Linked DNA regions of Homo sapiens: all the other regions are linked to region 1. Evidence: promoter capture Hi-C in 16 types of primary human blood cells and fetal thymus (Javierre and others, 2016). All regions are on one chromosome and are shown on one strand. Each heading gives the region's core, a stretch centred on a gene start or on the middle of the fragment in contact. The rest is flanking DNA. Distances are from core to core; before and after follow the strand shown. Region 1 holds the start of KRT71 (keratin 71). Region 2 overlaps KRT3 (keratin 3). Region 3 overlaps KRT76 (keratin 76). Region 4 has its middle 21 kb from the start of KRT76. Region 5 has its middle 4.9 kb from the start of KRT85. Region 6 has its middle 3.7 kb from the start of KRT84.

Region 1 (2,522 bases), core at 8-2,507:
CCCTCCCCCACATTCCAGAGATAAGAAATGAGAGTCACAATCACAATCATTTTTGGAGTATTTAGTGTGCGTCAGGCTTGTGACAAGATCTTCACCTGCATTTTCTTTTATAAGCCTGACAACAACCCCAAGACAGAAGTTATTATCTCCATTTTAGAGATGAGGAGATGGCAACACAGACAGGCAGATCACCTTCCCAGAGCCACTCAGCTGTGGCCAGCAGTGAGCACAAGAGCACCGTGGAGTCCCCTTCCCCAGTGCCCTCTTCTGCCTCTCAAGAAAGTCTTCAACTGACTGGAGCAAATGCCCAATCAGAGGGCCTGAAGCGGCCCCTTCCTGCTGCTCCTGATCCGCTGGGCAAGTGACCAGTGGGCAGGGCAGCATGCCAGGGGAGGAGGACAGCTTCCCTGCTTACTCTGGGCGAGACTGGCTCTCACAGGCCTTTTCTGCACACGGCCTGCAGGCCTAGCAATGGCACCAAGCTAGCCCTCAAGAGGAAGGACCACATCTCTTGCTGGGAGCCCTGAGAAGCCTCTGCCAGTAGAAATTGACCTGCCTCTGTTTTCTCTCTGGAAAGACAACACAGAGAACCTTACACAGGTCACCCTGTTGATGGGATGTACCTACCTTGTCCACAGTAAAGTCTTCCTCACATCTAACCTCAATCTCTCCTGCTGTAACAAAATCGTATGTTCCAAGAAGAGAAGAGGAGGGCTGTTCACAAGTTCCCCAGGCCCTAGAAGACCCACCTTGTCGATGAAGGAGGCGAACTTGTTGTTCAGAGCCTTGATCTGCTCTCGCTCCTGGGCACGCACTTTCTGGATCTCGGGGTCCAGCTCCACGTTGAGGGGGGCCAGGAGGCTCTCATTGACGGTAACCTGGTGGATGCCTCCAGGTGGGCATACAGTTGGGCACACAGGCCCCAGGGCCACACTGCCAAACATGCTTCCAGCAAAGCCACTGGCCCGGCCCCGGCCAAATCCATAGCCTCCACTCTTCCCGCTGCCACTGGCCACATTGAGGCTCCGGACACCCCCCAGGCTGTAGAGGCTCCGGCTGCCAAAGCCCCCACTGAGCCCTTTGCTCCCTGCCCGGAAGGAGGATGAGCTGCCCCCTGAGAGCACAGCTGAGCAGCCACTGAAGCCCCCCTTGGCGGCAGCTCCCGACTTGCAGGTGAATTGGCGGCTCATGTTGCTGGTGGAGACAAAGCTCAGATGCAGGAGGGAGGAAGGCAAAATCCCAAAAGGTTCTGCTGGTTGTAGTGAGGACTGGCAGGTGCCTTTATATGTGCTTGGCACTGGGGCTTGTGGATGGGCAGTCAAGAGCTTAATTCGTGGGTTTGGCTTGCCTGGGAGCAAGAAGTCATTTTCTCTATGCTGAGCTAGAGATCAAGCCCTCTCCACCTCTGAAACAACATGAAACCTTCAAATTGCTGGGCTTGCAAGCTTTGCTCATGTAATTTGGGTCTTATCTAATTAACCTGCTGTTATAGGGTAATTTGCCCCAGGCCCTGGCCTCTCCAGGGGGATGTCACTGGCACTGCACCATCCCTATCCTGATTAATCTTCTCTGGGTTGTTGGCTTCCTCCTGGGGATGCAGCAGGTGAAGACAGGATGGACTTTCCTGGATAGTTCAGGACACTGGGTAGAGTACTGGGGCCTCCAACTTCTGTTCTCCTCCTTCCTGGAAAGGGACTGATCAGGCATTACCTCTCCCCAGGCCTCCTGGAAACATAACCCATAGAGGGCAGCTGCTCTCACTCATGGGGTATTAGGAGGTGGAGTGACCCTCTCGCTAGCATGGGACAGAAGCAGCCCAGGCCAGAGCCAACCACGGGCACTATCCTCACTTCTCCCCCCTCAAACACCCATAATAAAGCAGGCTGGAGGCTTCAAACACTGGAGAAAATGAGGACGAGAAAAGGAGGATGGAGTTGGGGCAGGTGGCTGAGAAATTCAGGGACTTGACTGGAAGGAGGTACAGAGAAGACAAAGACAGAGGCTGGCCCATGGCCTGGAGGGTTATGGAGATTCCTGGGTGGTCCACTTCCTCATTTCTGTCTCTCCTCCAATGTGTATCTGCTAATAAGACTAGGAACAACTTGAGGACAGTAATCATCTGTTTAGAGTTCAAATAAAGAAGCTGTTATCAACATGAAACTTAACTCCTATTGCCTCTGTCCAGGCCCAAGTGAGCCAAGAACAAGGCTGGCTGAGCCCTCCCCAGGAGTGCAAGCCTCCAGGCAGGCTCAGACCAGAAAGACCCAATGGGGGCGACCCAGTAAGCACGATGTCATTCTACTCCAAACAGTCCTTTGATGCCAGCCCCAGAGACTCTGGCTGCAGCCCCTGCTTCCTAGCCACTGGCTCCTGTGTTGGGCCCCAGCTACTCCCATGATCGCCATTGCCACTGTGGCCCTATTCAACCCAAGGCAGCTCTGTCCCTGAAGATCACCCTTGCCCAGAGATCCCTGCTGGAGCCCCATGGGTGAACAGCAGCTCTTTGCTGGGTGGGGCACAGG
Region 2 (2,522 bases), core at 8-2,507, 240 kb after region 1:
TACTGCATTGTGTTTCAGCAGGGAAACCCCCAAGGCAGCAGGAAAGAGAACATCTGGGTTGTTGTGGTAGAAGATTTTCCTACCCTGTAGTTCCTGAGCAAGTTGGAGTCAGTCCCACATAGCAGGCAACCATCTCCCCCAGGGGCAAGACTTTCTGCAACTGAACCACCATTAGAAGGATGACTTCAGAGGGTAAAACCAAAAGGCATTCACCCAGTGACCACTGGGAACTCACTACCCAGCTGTCCAATAGGCCATGGCCTCTCTGAAACCTCCAGTGGATCCCGTAAGAGGTGACTAGCACCCACCTTGGTCTGGTACAGGGCCTCAGCTTCGGCCTTGCTTCTCTGAGCGATATCCTCATACTGTGCACGAACTTCAGCAATGATGCTGTCCAGGTCCAGGGAGCGATTATTGTCCATGGACAGCACCACAGATGTGTCACTGATGTGGCTCTGCATCTGAGATAGCTCCTGTCAACACAGAGGGAGCTTGTTCACTTTTGGGGTCCCTGTAACAAGCACACAGGGCCCTGAAAGACTCTTGATCAACAGTCTCATTCACTGATTCCTTGCTCCACATGTGTATCAGCCACACCCTGTCCGCAGCCACTCAGAGAACCCCATGTCTGCAGCTTATCCTGTGGAATCCCTTCCAAGGGTCCTCATCTCCAGGCTCATTCCAGATGTCTTCTGGGGCCTATATACCAAAATGCACCAGCCTCAAATCTGGAAACACCTCACTCTCCCTCTGTCCCTTCTTAGTAGGTAACATCCTTACAGCGTCGTAGAGGGTCCTTAAGAAGTCGATCTCATCTATCAAGGCATCCACTTTGGCCTGAAGCTCCACCTTGTTCATATAGGCACTGTCCACATCCTGAGAAAAGAGGAAGATAAAGGCCTTATTCTCCCAATGAACAAACAGCAAACCACAACTGCAGCAAGAAAGAGCAGAGGGGACTGGTGCAGTGATGGTCCTTGTCTAAGACCAGTCTCCACTTGAACGGGCAATTTGTATCTCATTAGGATGGTCTAAGTTTAATCCTACTAAAAAACTAAAGACTGATGAACTAACTCTTTTAGGGATCTTCCAGACTAAGGTGCACCTGACTTCTGTTTATTGCTCCAAAGGCCTGAACTTGGCAGCTCTGTGGCAGTGGAGTGAGGAGATTCCCCCAACCCAGCCAGAAACCTGCAGCTGCAAGCCTCAGAAACCTCACACACAGCCCTTACCTTCTTCAGAGTCACAAATTCATTCTCAGCAGCTGTACGTTTATTGATTTCATCCTCATATCTGTGTGAATAAAAAAGAAACAGCTGAGTTTGGTTTTGAGGTCATCGTAAACACCATTGTTCCCTGGAACTCTGAAAGTTCATCTCTTCCCTCCCTCCATCCCTATCCTGCCCCTCTCAGATGAGCACATCCTCTTTACTATCTCCCTGTTAGTTGGGGGACCAACCAAGTCAATTTGCCCAGGCAAACTGTCTGGTTTTAGCACTAAAATTTCTGCATCCCAGGAAACCCCTCAGTCCCAGGCAAACCTCTGGATGGTTGATCACCATACCATGAGTTGTCCCAGAATCTTTCACATGCCAGAACCAGGATCTTCCCCAACCTGGCTCATGAGGAAATGCTTCCCCAACTCTAAACTCATCCGTTTTTTGTTTTTGTTTTTTTTTTAGACATAGTCTCGCTCTGTCACCGAGGCTGGAGTGCAGTGGTACAATCTTGACTCACTGCAACCTCCATTTCCAGGGTTCAAGAAATTCTGTTTCCTCAGCCACCCGACTATCTTGGATTACAGGTGTGTGCCACCACACCCAGCTAATTTTTGTATTTTTAGTAGAGATGATATTTCGCCATGTTGGCCAGGCTGGTCTTGAACTCCTGACCTCAAATGATCTGTCCACCTCGGCCTCCCAAAGTGCTGGGATTACAGGCATGAGCCACCAAGCCCAGCCTAAACTCATCCTCTTGCCACAATTTTATTTGCAAAGCACCATGCTTGGAGAAGGAAGGTGAGGGGGAACTGAATGAACCAAGCTGTCCTTCATGAAGGTAAGGAGAGGGAAATGGGCCAGGAGACGCCACTGCCCAGCAGTCAGGGGGCATGTAGAAGGGGCCAAGACTCTGAGACAGGGTGGGCCATGGCATCTTCCCACTCCTGCCCTGTCACTCACTTCTTCTTGAAGTCTTCCACCAGGTCCTCCATGTTCTTCAGCTCAGAGTCCAGGCGCCCTCTCTCCCCGAGGATGTTGTCCAGGTAGCTCCGCAGGTAGTTGATGTGATTCTCAAAAAGAGGCTCAAGGTTGTTTGTGCCTGAGATGGAACTTGTGCCCTGCTGCTGGAGCAGGTTCCACTTGGTCTCCAGGACTTTGTTCTGTTGCTCCAGGAACCGCACCTGCAATGGTTGCAGGAAGCAACATCAGGCAACACTTGTAGCAGAGGAGCAGAGGGGCCTTCACTCAGGTAGGACTAGGTGTCTATCTCCTGGGCCCCCAGCACAAAGGCCTAGAAAAGAT
Region 3 (2,522 bases), core at 7-2,506, 220 kb after region 1:
TTGCCCAGGCTGGTCTCGAACTGTTGGGCTCAAGTGATTCTCCCTCCTCAGCCTCCCAAAGTACTGGGATTACAGGCATGATTGAAATTCTTAATAATTTTGTAACTAGGTTCCTGCATTATCATTTTGCACTGAGGCCTGAAAATCACGTAGCTGGTCCTGTCCAGAGACCTCTCAGAGCTCAGGGCACTGCCTGGCCCTCTTCCCTCTAAATGCAGTGATGGGCAGAGGTATGGGCAGTCAGTGAGAGGGCAAACTTCAAGGAGCCTGACCACTTGCCTAGGCTCTTTGATTGACTTTGCAAAGCACAATGTGTGCATATGGAACCCAGTGAAATGTGTGCTCTCATTGGGCATTTCTGCCTATTTCCTCAGTTTCTGTTTTCCTTCATTACAGTTACTTCTTATAGGAATTTCAGTTAAGAAAGAATTCATACCTTCTGAATGCATCAAAGTTGTGGGATTCCTGCCTGTTAAGGACTAAAATCTACTACCAAGAGTTTGTATTTCATAAAGCTTGAGGAATTGGACTGATTCTAGGAGAAAAGAGGTCTCTAGGCAGGACCTCTTTTTTTCCTCTAGGAGAAAAGAGGTCTCTGGGATCTCTTTTGGGAATATGAATCTGAGTTGCCACTGAATTCCCAGAGCCCAGCACAGAGCCTGCCACAGAGTGGGTGCCCACCACGTTTGTGTGGTTGAATTGGAATAGGGCCTCTGCAGAGCAGGTGTGCCCGTCCCTGTGGGTTCTGATCCCTGGGGAAGTCGGGAGCTCCCTCCCACCTTGAGAGGCCCAGTTTGCTCCTTGCAGACCTCAGCGGATATGGACTGCAACTTGGAACGTGGAGGAGGAGGCAAACCAAAGCTGCAGAACAGGAGATTGGACGGGACACACTGATAAAGGCCTTTACCAAGTGCAGCCCTGGACCTCTGCCTAGAATCCCCAGGAGCTAGGGGAACACTCACACTCCTGGGGCCTGTCCACACCTATGATTCAGAATACCTAAGACTGGAATACAGGAATACGCATTGTTGACAAGCATCCAAGGTGATTCCTGTGTCCAGTCAAGTGTGGCGGACTCCCCATCCTAAAGGATTCTAAACTCTGGGAGGACTCTTTTGTCCCTCTGGGCTGGAATAGGAGGGGGCCCATCTGGAGCCTGAAATCTGTGTCATAGCCACATGGGAGTCTCAGTCCCCACCCTTTCACCCCCTTCTGCTTTGTCATGTTTCACTCAATAAATCCATCCCAGAGTATTGACTGAAGGCACAGTTGGGAACAGTTGAAATCCCAAATTAGGACCACACCTCCCTGCTAATTCCCCAGAAGGGGAAACTTCCCAGGAGGAGCCCTCACTTCTTTTTGAAGTCTTCCACCAGGTCCTGCATGCTTTTCAGCTCTCCCTCCAGGTTCCCCCTCTCCCCTAGAAGTGAATCTAGCTGCTTGCATAGGAAGCTGATGTAGGATTCAAAACAAGGCTCCAGGCTGCTGGGCCCTGAGCCTGTGGTCTGCTGCTGGAGCAGTTCCCACTTGGTCTCCAGGACCTTGTTCTGCTGTTCCAGGAACCGCACCTGCATGAAAGAGGGGAGAAAAGGAGTCAGCCCCTTGAGTTGGGCATGTGGGGCTGCCCATCCCAAATGTAGAACTGTGGAGAAGGAACCCAGTTCTTCAATCTACAATTTCCCCTGTTTTTTAATTTGGGAAGGATGAAGATTTAGCAAAGGGAGAGCTAGAATTTGTTGAGTGATTATGCCTTACCTGTTATTTTCATGTATTTCCGTCACATTTAATCCTCACAACCACCTATAAAGGAGTTGCTGTGATCCCCATTTTGTAGATAAGGAAACTGAGACTCAAAGAGTTTAAGTTTCCCAAAGTGACAAGTCTACTGAGTGACAAAGCTAAGAATCAAACCCAGGACTGTCCTGGGTCTATAGGGATCCTTCAGAATACCACTGAAGGAGGTAAGCACAAATAAAGTTTGTCATTGTTTTTTAGATGTAAGCTTTTTTCAGCTCCATAAAGGCAGTGAATACAGTCAATGAGGTCTAACATTTCTTTAGAAGTTTCACATAGGAAGACCTCCTTTCAGTTATTCAGCTTGCAGCTGAACTAGAATTCACTTCAGATCCTGGGCTCAGTCCCACACAGACCCAGAACACCCTCCTCTGCCCCAGCATGGACAGCTCAGTTTAATTATTGGCTGAAGCACAGCATCATCTGGAAGGTAAGGCAGCTGCCAATGCACCTCATTTAGATGCAGCCTCAAGATCTGTGCTAACACAAGGTTTTGATTACCAGCTACTTTGGATTATCAAGCAATTGCTTTTCAGGAGAAATTAAAGTAACTGCAATAATTTCATGACTAAAATGGCTCATTCTTCAAAAAGCTAAGAGCATGTTTGGACCCCCACTTCATTTACCCTCATCTCATTCTTAGCAGGAAACCAGGACCAGGAATTCTTCCCCCCATTTCACAGCTGGAAAAAGAAGGCCCAAAAAGTGAAAGGGGCATGATCACTGTC
Region 4 (2,522 bases), core at 13-2,512, 200 kb after region 1:
AGGAGCCTGTATGCATGAACTTAAGATGGGGTTTTGAGATACAGACTGACTAAATCAGCTGCCACTTGTAGGAGTGGCTGCCCTCTCTGCTAAACATGCCCACCTGTGTACCAAGCCCATGTTAAGCACATGGGAAATGCAGCCAAATCATCCAACTGGAGGGAAAAGAGACCCAGCTGATTGGAAGGTCTTGAATCTCACCTCACACCCTCACATTTTCTCAGCCCCTAGAAGCCCCTAACATACCAGCTTGGATGCTTCTCTTGGCAGCCTGACACCCTCAGGGGCCTGGGTAGAGGCTGAAGATTATCCTCAAAATAAACAAAAGAGAGGCAATTTTATTAAGAATTCTAACCGGGGGTAACAGCAACAGTCATCCTGGCTATAAGGAGAGAGGATCTGAATCCAGTGGTTTCTGGTGAGCACAGGCCAAGAAAAAATTTACGCTACAGTAACGGGGGTGCTAGAAGGCCTTCCCTGCAGAGAGGCCAGAGAGCTGGGCACTCCAAGCTGCCATGCCATTGCCTCTGGAGGGAAGAGAAGTTTTGACTGGGTTTCAGGGGTAGGTTCACTGCCAACTGACCCTGTGCACGAGGATAAACAACTTGATGACCGAGAAGCTTCTAGTTACAGTTTATTAAAATTAAAATAAAAATAAAGATCATGCTCAGGTTGCCCTGGAGGCTGCAGTTCTTTCCACCTCTGGTAGGTGCTTATACCAGGCTTAGAACAGACACATTCTTTGGCACCACCACATCAACAGGAATCTAATGTTGTCCTTGCCTCTGTAGACAGCACCACAGGAGTAGGTCATGGGATGGCAAGTCAGCTCTCAAAGACTTTGGGAAGGGCACTCATTGCAAGACACACAAGACAACATGGGAGCTAAAGTTTAAGCAAACCCAGTTCTGTTCCATTTATTGAATAGCTTCTTGATCATATAACAAGAAGTTTACAGGAAGGAGGAAATGTGTTCTGTTAATACCCAGAAAGCAAACAGCCTGACACTGTCACCCAGAGCATGAGGCAGACACGGATGGGACCAGAAACAGCCACGTGACTATTGCAGTTGCAGGAGGGGATTGAAATGGGAACTGTGGAGGGCGGTTAGTCAAGGAAGACTTCCCAGAGAAGGTATCTTGAGGTGAGCTGATGGAGATGATAAAGAGTATCCCATGTTGCGGGCGTAAAGAGACTTGCAGAAACCCATCTGTGCAGCAAATATTACGCTTCATTTGAGGCAAGATCATCAAAGGCTGCTGAAGGCTACAAAGCAGAGCGTGGTATATCCACAAATGCAGGGATATGTACCAGCCTGACCCATTGAGTGGGAAGAATTTATGCTGTTTCTGACAGCCTGGCAAACTGCAGTGGGTCATGAGTTTGGATGTGGCTCACTGCTCCCCAAAGATCACCCAGAGTCTCTAGTCTCTCTTTGCTCCCATCCACCCCTGCCAACATGATCTTATGCAAGTACCATTTTCAAAATGTCACTCTCCTACCCAAAAGTTGACTAGCCTGCCTCTTCTAGCAGAACGATCTCCTCTTTTGACCTTAAATGCCCTCCCCTTTCCCTTTTTCTTTCCTCCATCCTGATTCCACCACTTTAATGTTAAAACTCTGTCATTCCATCCAAGCCAATCTTCTTGCTATCATTTGGTAGGAAGTTGAACAAATTACCTCCACGGTTTCTTCCCCCTGTTGGGTTCTGGAATACCATGCATCTCCTCCCCACCACCACCATCGTCCTTGCTAAGTTCCACCTCTGAGAGGATGACCCACTCAGCAGCCTGGCCATGGAATCCCTGGGTCTTCTCAATTCCGGTCACCTTCTCCTTCACTCCACCTCAACCACACACTCCATGCCTGCAGCCTGGACCATCACCAAGAACTGCTGCCTCCTAGAAGCTTAATTCCCAAGCCCCACTTTCTGGCCATAACTTTCCATCTCCCAGGGCTCTCCCAATTAACTCTCATTACATCTGCTCTTCACTCATGTAAATAATCTCATTGTCTTAACCCCTTCATTTTTTCCAAGGCTGTTAGCTCTCTCCTAGTTTCTTTTCCTGCTCTTCTCACATTAAGCATTATTCATTCATTCAACAAATACTTTCTGAGCATCTACTATATGCTAGGCATTGACCAGGTGGTGGAAAGTGGTGAACAAAATTGATGCTATCTCATTCCTCATAGAAGGAAGACTGGACTTCACCACCTGGACGACCTTCTCACCAGCCTCATCAATTCCCCTATTCCCCTATCTTTCAACCATCAGCCTAACAAAGTCCCTTCTCAAGGCCATGACTAAAACTTCCTTCCCCCACCTGCTGCAGGCACTGAGCTCTGCTAAGGGAGACCACCCAAGCCTAGCTTCCTACTTCACCAAGAACACTGAAGCCATCAGGAGTGATCCCCTCAGCATCCCTTCTGTGCCTTGACTCCTGCCTGCCTCCACACCCACCTGATTTTCCTTTTTCTTGTACAAGGCTTCAAGGTGTATCCCCACCCATCTCCTCTAATTC
Region 5 (2,522 bases), core at 10-2,509, 180 kb before region 1:
GTGGGCTGGTCCCCCTCAGTCAGTCCTGATGGGCTCCCCATGGACAAGGCCTGCACAGCTGATTCAAACTGGGTACCGCCCTTTGCCTCTGCTGGCCACACTTTTATTATGCATCTAAGGCTACGCCACTGCCGCTGCTGAGACGCAGCTCTTGGAGGCTCTTCTTAGCCCTCTTTCCCTCTCTTTGACTTTCACAAGACTTGGGCATGATTCAGGGACCCTAAGTGAGAGAAAGGAGGGTCAGAGCAACTCTACGTTCTCCAGTGTGTCATGGCGGGGTTCCGTGCCCAGCTGACACAGCTGCTCCCTGGCCTGCTCCACGGCAACTCCAAGAAACTCCATTCTCCTCCCGAACTCTGTCCACGTGCCTTCCTATTGGCAGCATTCCCTGGTGCTTTGCTGTTTTCCATGGTTACTCGGGATCAGAGCAGTGGCTCAGTCGTTACAGAGCCTCTGATTTCAGGAATGTACTGCATGAATGGTTTTGAAATGTTTTCTTTCTTTTCTTTTTGGCAGTTGAGCCATCTCCCCAAATCCTAGGAGGAAAACAGCTATATAAAGCCATGTATTTACTTATGTAGTTATAGAATAGATAAGATTGACATGCTGGTCTCCCTGTTTGCCCCTGGCCCTCCAACTCCATTCTCAGCCGAGGAGAGTAAGCCCCGTAAAACATAAGTTGGATCATGTCTCTACCCTGCTCAAACACCCAATTCCCCATTTTGCTTGGAGTCCTAACAATGGCCAACAAGGCCCTGCACTGCCTGTCTGTGTTGTGGCCTTTGTCACCGGTCTCCCTGTGTTCAGCAACCACAGTGACCTCCCACTGGAGCACCAGGACAGGGTGCACTCCTGACTCAGGGCCTGTGCCCTGCTGTCTCTTCCACCCAAATGCTCCCCTGTCATCCAAGTGGCTTGCCCATTGCCTCCTGCAGGGCTTTGCCCCTATACCATCTCTCTGACCCTTTAAAAAAATGGCAACCTGCCCTCCACCCCAGGGCACTCTCCATCCAGCTTATCTTGCTCTTATTTATTTATTTTTCCATCACACTTAACACAGTCCAGAATTTACTTATTTATTCTATTTGTGGATTATTGTCTGTTTTTCCCATCACCCCAAAGTAAACTCCATGGAAGCAGAGATTTTGTCTGTTTTGTTCATTTTGTTCACCTAGAAAAGTGCTGGGAATATAGTAAGTGCTCAGTAAATATTGTTGACTGATGAATGTATAAATGAATGGCTATCTTGGATACTTTAGATATTTGAGGTTTGGCAGAAAATGACAGCTTGTGGGAAGCCTTGGCCCTTGAGCCCCGAGGAACACATGCAGTTTGAAAGCCATGGGACTAAGACCCCTCCCTGGCTCTTTCCTGCTTCAAGGCTGTGGTTTTCTGAATACCCATGGAGACAAAGAACACAGAACGGTGAAAACGGCTGGGTTGGGCTGGTGAGAAAGGAGATAGATTTATTTTTAAAAGCTGTTACTTATTGTTTTTATGTTTGTGTCCTAATTACAAATCTGGAGAAAAACAAAATGGTTTTACAAGACTCTAAGCTCCCTCCTCTCCTTGCTATATTGCACAAGCCAATCCTGCTGGTAGCCTGCTTTGAAAATCTCCTACGCCTTCTTGTCCGAAGTTGGTGGCCAGAAGAGGGCAGCAAATTCCCACAGCTGGCCTGGCAGCAGTTCAGTCGTGGCAGAAGCAGAGAAGGCCAGGGATCTGCCTGCAGCTGGCTCTGGTTTCCAGATCTTTGGAAGCTGGAGACAGTCCCTGACGCTTCTGCATCCACCTGTGGTTGGTACTGGAGTGGCTGAGCTGCTGACAAAGCTATTGTTCATTGACAAAAGAGAAACACCACCACCACCACCACTACTGAAGCAATTGTGTACCCACTGTGGGCCAGGTTGAGTGCCAAGCACCTTGGATTACCATTGCATGTCATCCCCACATCTCTTTGAGGTACGACATATTTTTCCATTTTACAAATGAGGCAAGAGGCGTATTGAGATTACGTGACAGGCAGAACAGCACAGTGGTGGTGAGCATGGGCTCAGGAGTCAGAGCTCCTGTGCCTCACCACTTATTTAACCTCTCTGGGCCTCAGTTTTGTCATCTGTCAAATGGGAAATAATAAAAGCACCTACCACCTAAGGATATTGAAAGAATAAAATGAGTTAACCTGTGAGAATTATTTGGAACACTACTCAGTTCAACATATGTTAGGTATTATTGTTACCTCTCATTACCTTTGGTCACGCAGCCAGTAAGTGGAAGACCTGGGATTGAACTCAGGTCTGCCTGTGCCCTTGTCCATGGGTTTGACCCCTATGTCATCTCTGGGAGATAACTGACATATTAATAATATTGAGTCTTCCAGCTCATTAACACAGTATATCTTTCTATTTATTTAAGTTTTCTTTGATTTCTTTCATTAATGTTTTGTAGTTTTCAGCATACAGATCCTCATATACTTTTTAAAGGTTTATGCCTAAGTATTTATCCTTTGGAATTAAATGGTA
Region 6 (2,522 bases), core at 14-2,513, 160 kb before region 1:
GCCATTTCCATGCCGAAACTCCTCCCATGGTTTCCCACCCATTCAGAGTCAATGCCCTGTAAGACACTATGCAGTGTGCCTCCCTCTTCCCTGACCTCATCCCCTCCACCTGTCCCGCTGCCCACTCTGTTGCAGCCACTTGAGCATCCTGGCTGTCCATCAAACAGGCAGAATGACTCCTGCCTCGAATGCTTACCCCCTTGCTGTTTTCTCTGCTGGGAACCTTTTTCCTCAAATAGCTGTATGGCTGGGTCCCTCAACTCTTCCAGGGCTTTGTTCATATGTCATCCTCTTAGCTTCTATTGGAAACTCCCTGTCCTCCCTGTACACCTGCCCCGCTTCCTTGTCGCCTTAGCATTTACAGCCATCTGAGGTCCTCTTCTTGGGTGGATTTGCCTGTTGTTGTCGTTGACTTGTACTGGCTGGAGCAAAGCTTTAGGAGGCAGACACTGCTGTGCATTTTGCTCTCTGAGGGGTCCCCAGGACTCAGAGTGGGGCACATGGTGGGCATTCTGTATAGTTTCGTTGAGTGAATGGAAGAGGCTGTGAAGATTAAAAGCAGGAGGAGAAAGAAATAGGAAGTATGAAGAACAGGAATTTGGGCATTTGATTTTGCAGATATTTCGGGAAAAAGAGACTCCAAGTTCCCAAATGGACAGGAATGGCCCAGGAGGGGACGGTGGGGCAGAAACTCAAGAGCTCAAAGGAGAACCAATCCAGTTTGTCCCCCAGTTCCAGCCTCTTGGGGTTTGAGCCAGGCTGCTTGAACGAAAGGGCATCCCACTCCTCTGAGGCCAGGCGAGGGGTTCCAGGAGATTGGGGCAGGGGGACCAGAGGCTGTCTGGTGGAGGTGAAAGGGGAAGGGAGTGGGAGGGATGGCCTGCCTAGAGAACCCTGGTGGGGACCCAGAAGATGATATCAATTTTAGAGTCAGATGGACCTGGGTGAAACTCAGATTTGTCACCGACTAGCAGTATGATCTTGGATAGTGCTATACCAAGGGCAGGGTGGTGGCCAGGTTCTGCTGCAGGTGCAGGCACTAGGGGAACTTTTCTGCAGAGAACTTTAAAACCAACCAATCAGCTTATTAACAATTTTCAGCATGCATTGGCCATTCTAAATAATGGTAGTAGTCCCTTCCACCCCTATGGTATACCAATGACCTTGGGGAAATTGTTTAACCTCTAAGCCTCAGTTTCCTCATGTTAATATGGAATATTCCCTGTTTCATAGTATGATGAGGATTGACTAGGAAGTGCCTGGGATGTGCACTGTGCAGTGCCTGGCAGCTGCTACTGTACTCCATTCCTTTCCCTGGCTCTTTCCTCCCTCCCTTCCTCCCTTTTCTTCTCTGTTTTGCACAATCCTCCCTTCACTTCTACACAGTCATCCCTGTTCCCATCCACACCCGCCTCCTTCCTGCTCCCATGGCAGATGCATTCATACCCCATTAGCCATTCCTGTCCCATGTCCCAGCTTCCCTCAACCCTGATCAGGCTGGGTGGGGTGGGGGTAATTGTAATTGGGACCAGTCAAGCATAGTCCCTGCTCTGTGATGAACTGTCACCATCAGCAGTTTGCAGTTTGGAGGCATTATTTCGCCAGACGATGCATAACACAACCCTCAGTCATTTTTTAGGGGGTGGCAGGTGGGGAGAGGGGGCGGAGTTGCCCTGGCAACTTTGGGTAGGAGGTTTTGCTGCTGCAACAGTTTCTTCTTGCTGTTGTCAGTCAGCCTGAGTGTAACTCCAGAGACTTGCGGGCTGAGCCCAGGCTCCGTGGCTGCATTACCATGCCTGGCTGCTGGGTCATCAGGATCCTATCTGTGGAGCAGGGAGGAGGCAGAAACGCTGAGCAGAGGAAAGGGAGGGGAAGGGCTGCCTGAGGGAGGGGGACATCCTGGTTGGCCATGCAGGTTCTGGGAACGCTGTTTGCACTGTGGCTGGGTGTGTGTGTGGGAAAGGGGATGACAGGGGAAGCCCAGATTCTGAGAAGGCTTCAGAGGGCTTCTGTTTAGCCTGGGGACGAGTTTGTGCTGGAGAGAGGCACTGGCTGGAGAAGTTTTCATGCTAAGACCTGCTCCTGCTGGGAAAGGAAGCTTCAGAGTCCCCCCAGCAGGGGTGGGGGTCGGGGGGCAGGGGGTGTGTGTGAGAGGCTAGGTCCACCCTTGCCAGTACCTCCTCCTCTCTCCCCTCTCAGATGAATGAACACGCCTCCCCACGGAAGATAAAGCACCCCCTTCTTGTTTTCTACCCACCCCTCTCACTTCTTCCAGGAAGGATGGTTTTTTCAGGTTTAATGCGATGTCTCACATGGCCCACATGGTTGTCACCTGTCCAGAGTGAAAATGTTGCTCCTGGTAGACATCTAGTTCAGTTTGCTTCAACACACCTTTATTGGTTGCTAATGTGCGCCTGGCATTGCACTTAGGTGCTAGGATGGCTAGGACAGCCTCTTCCAGGTTCAGCGACTCCAAGCACCCCCTCCTCTGCTCAGGGTGCCATTTCTAGAGCCATTTTCCC

What was found. Contacts are between HindIII fragments. The CHiCAGO score rates a contact against its expected background, and 5 or more counts as called.
Region 2: a contact is called between a fragment that was not itself captured here and the fragment with the promoter of KRT71 in region 1, in 1 of 17 cell types (naive CD4 T cells). The highest score is 5.8, in naive CD4 T cells.
Region 3: a fragment that was not itself captured here is called in contact with the fragment with the promoter of KRT71 in region 1 in 6 of 17 cell types (naive CD4 T cells, endothelial precursors, naive CD8 T cells and 3 more); the score reaches 8.0 in naive CD4 T cells.
Region 4: a fragment that was not itself captured here is called in contact with the fragment with the promoter of KRT71 in region 1 in 1 of 17 cell types (total CD8 T cells); the score reaches 5.1 in total CD8 T cells.
Region 5: a fragment that was not itself captured here is called in contact with the fragment with the promoter of KRT71 in region 1 in 4 of 17 cell types (M2 macrophages, M1 macrophages, M0 macrophages and 1 more); the score reaches 8.2 in M2 macrophages.
Region 6: a fragment that was not itself captured here is called in contact with the fragment with the promoter of KRT71 in region 1 in 3 of 17 cell types (M0 macrophages, M1 macrophages and M2 macrophages); the score reaches 6.6 in M0 macrophages.

What each region holds. Positions count from the first base shown.
Region 1 is chr12:52,551,888-52,554,409 of GRCh38, forward strand. KRT71 (keratin 71) reads right to left here and starts at 1,258. Exons shown (of 9, transcript NM_033448.3): 1 at 750-1,258. The coding sequence starts at 1,190. The HindIII fragment of the contact is 3,012 bases long and covers 1-1,443 here.
Region 2 is chr12:52,791,931-52,794,452 of GRCh38, forward strand. It overlaps KRT3 (keratin 3), which reads right to left. Exons shown (of 9, transcript NM_057088.3): 2 at 2,181-2,401; 3 at 1,233-1,293; 4 at 781-876; 5 at 309-473. Among named protein-coding and RNA genes, the nearest start is that of KRT3, 2.9 kb to the right of the region's middle. The HindIII fragment of the contact is 4,397 bases long and covers 1-2,522 here.
Region 3 is chr12:52,774,035-52,776,556 of GRCh38, forward strand. It overlaps KRT76 (keratin 76), which reads right to left. Exons shown (of 9, transcript NM_015848.4): 2 at 1,354-1,568. Among named protein-coding and RNA genes, the nearest start is that of KRT76, 2.0 kb to the right of the region's middle. The HindIII fragment of the contact is 1,487 bases long and covers 514-2,000 here.
Region 4 is chr12:52,755,395-52,757,916 of GRCh38, forward strand. No RefSeq gene overlaps it. Among named protein-coding and RNA genes, the nearest start is that of KRT76, 21 kb to the right of the region's middle. The HindIII fragment of the contact is 1,288 bases long and covers 619-1,906 here.
Region 5 is chr12:52,371,084-52,373,605 of GRCh38, forward strand. No RefSeq gene overlaps it. Among named protein-coding and RNA genes, the nearest start is that of KRT85, 4.9 kb to the left of the region's middle. RefSeq lists an enhancer at 1,611-1,780 and a cis regulatory region at 1,696. The HindIII fragment of the contact is 4,826 bases long and covers 1-2,522 here.
Region 6 is chr12:52,388,110-52,390,631 of GRCh38, forward strand. No RefSeq gene overlaps it. Among named protein-coding and RNA genes, the nearest start is that of KRT84, 3.7 kb to the left of the region's middle. The HindIII fragment of the contact is 1,665 bases long and covers 432-2,096 here.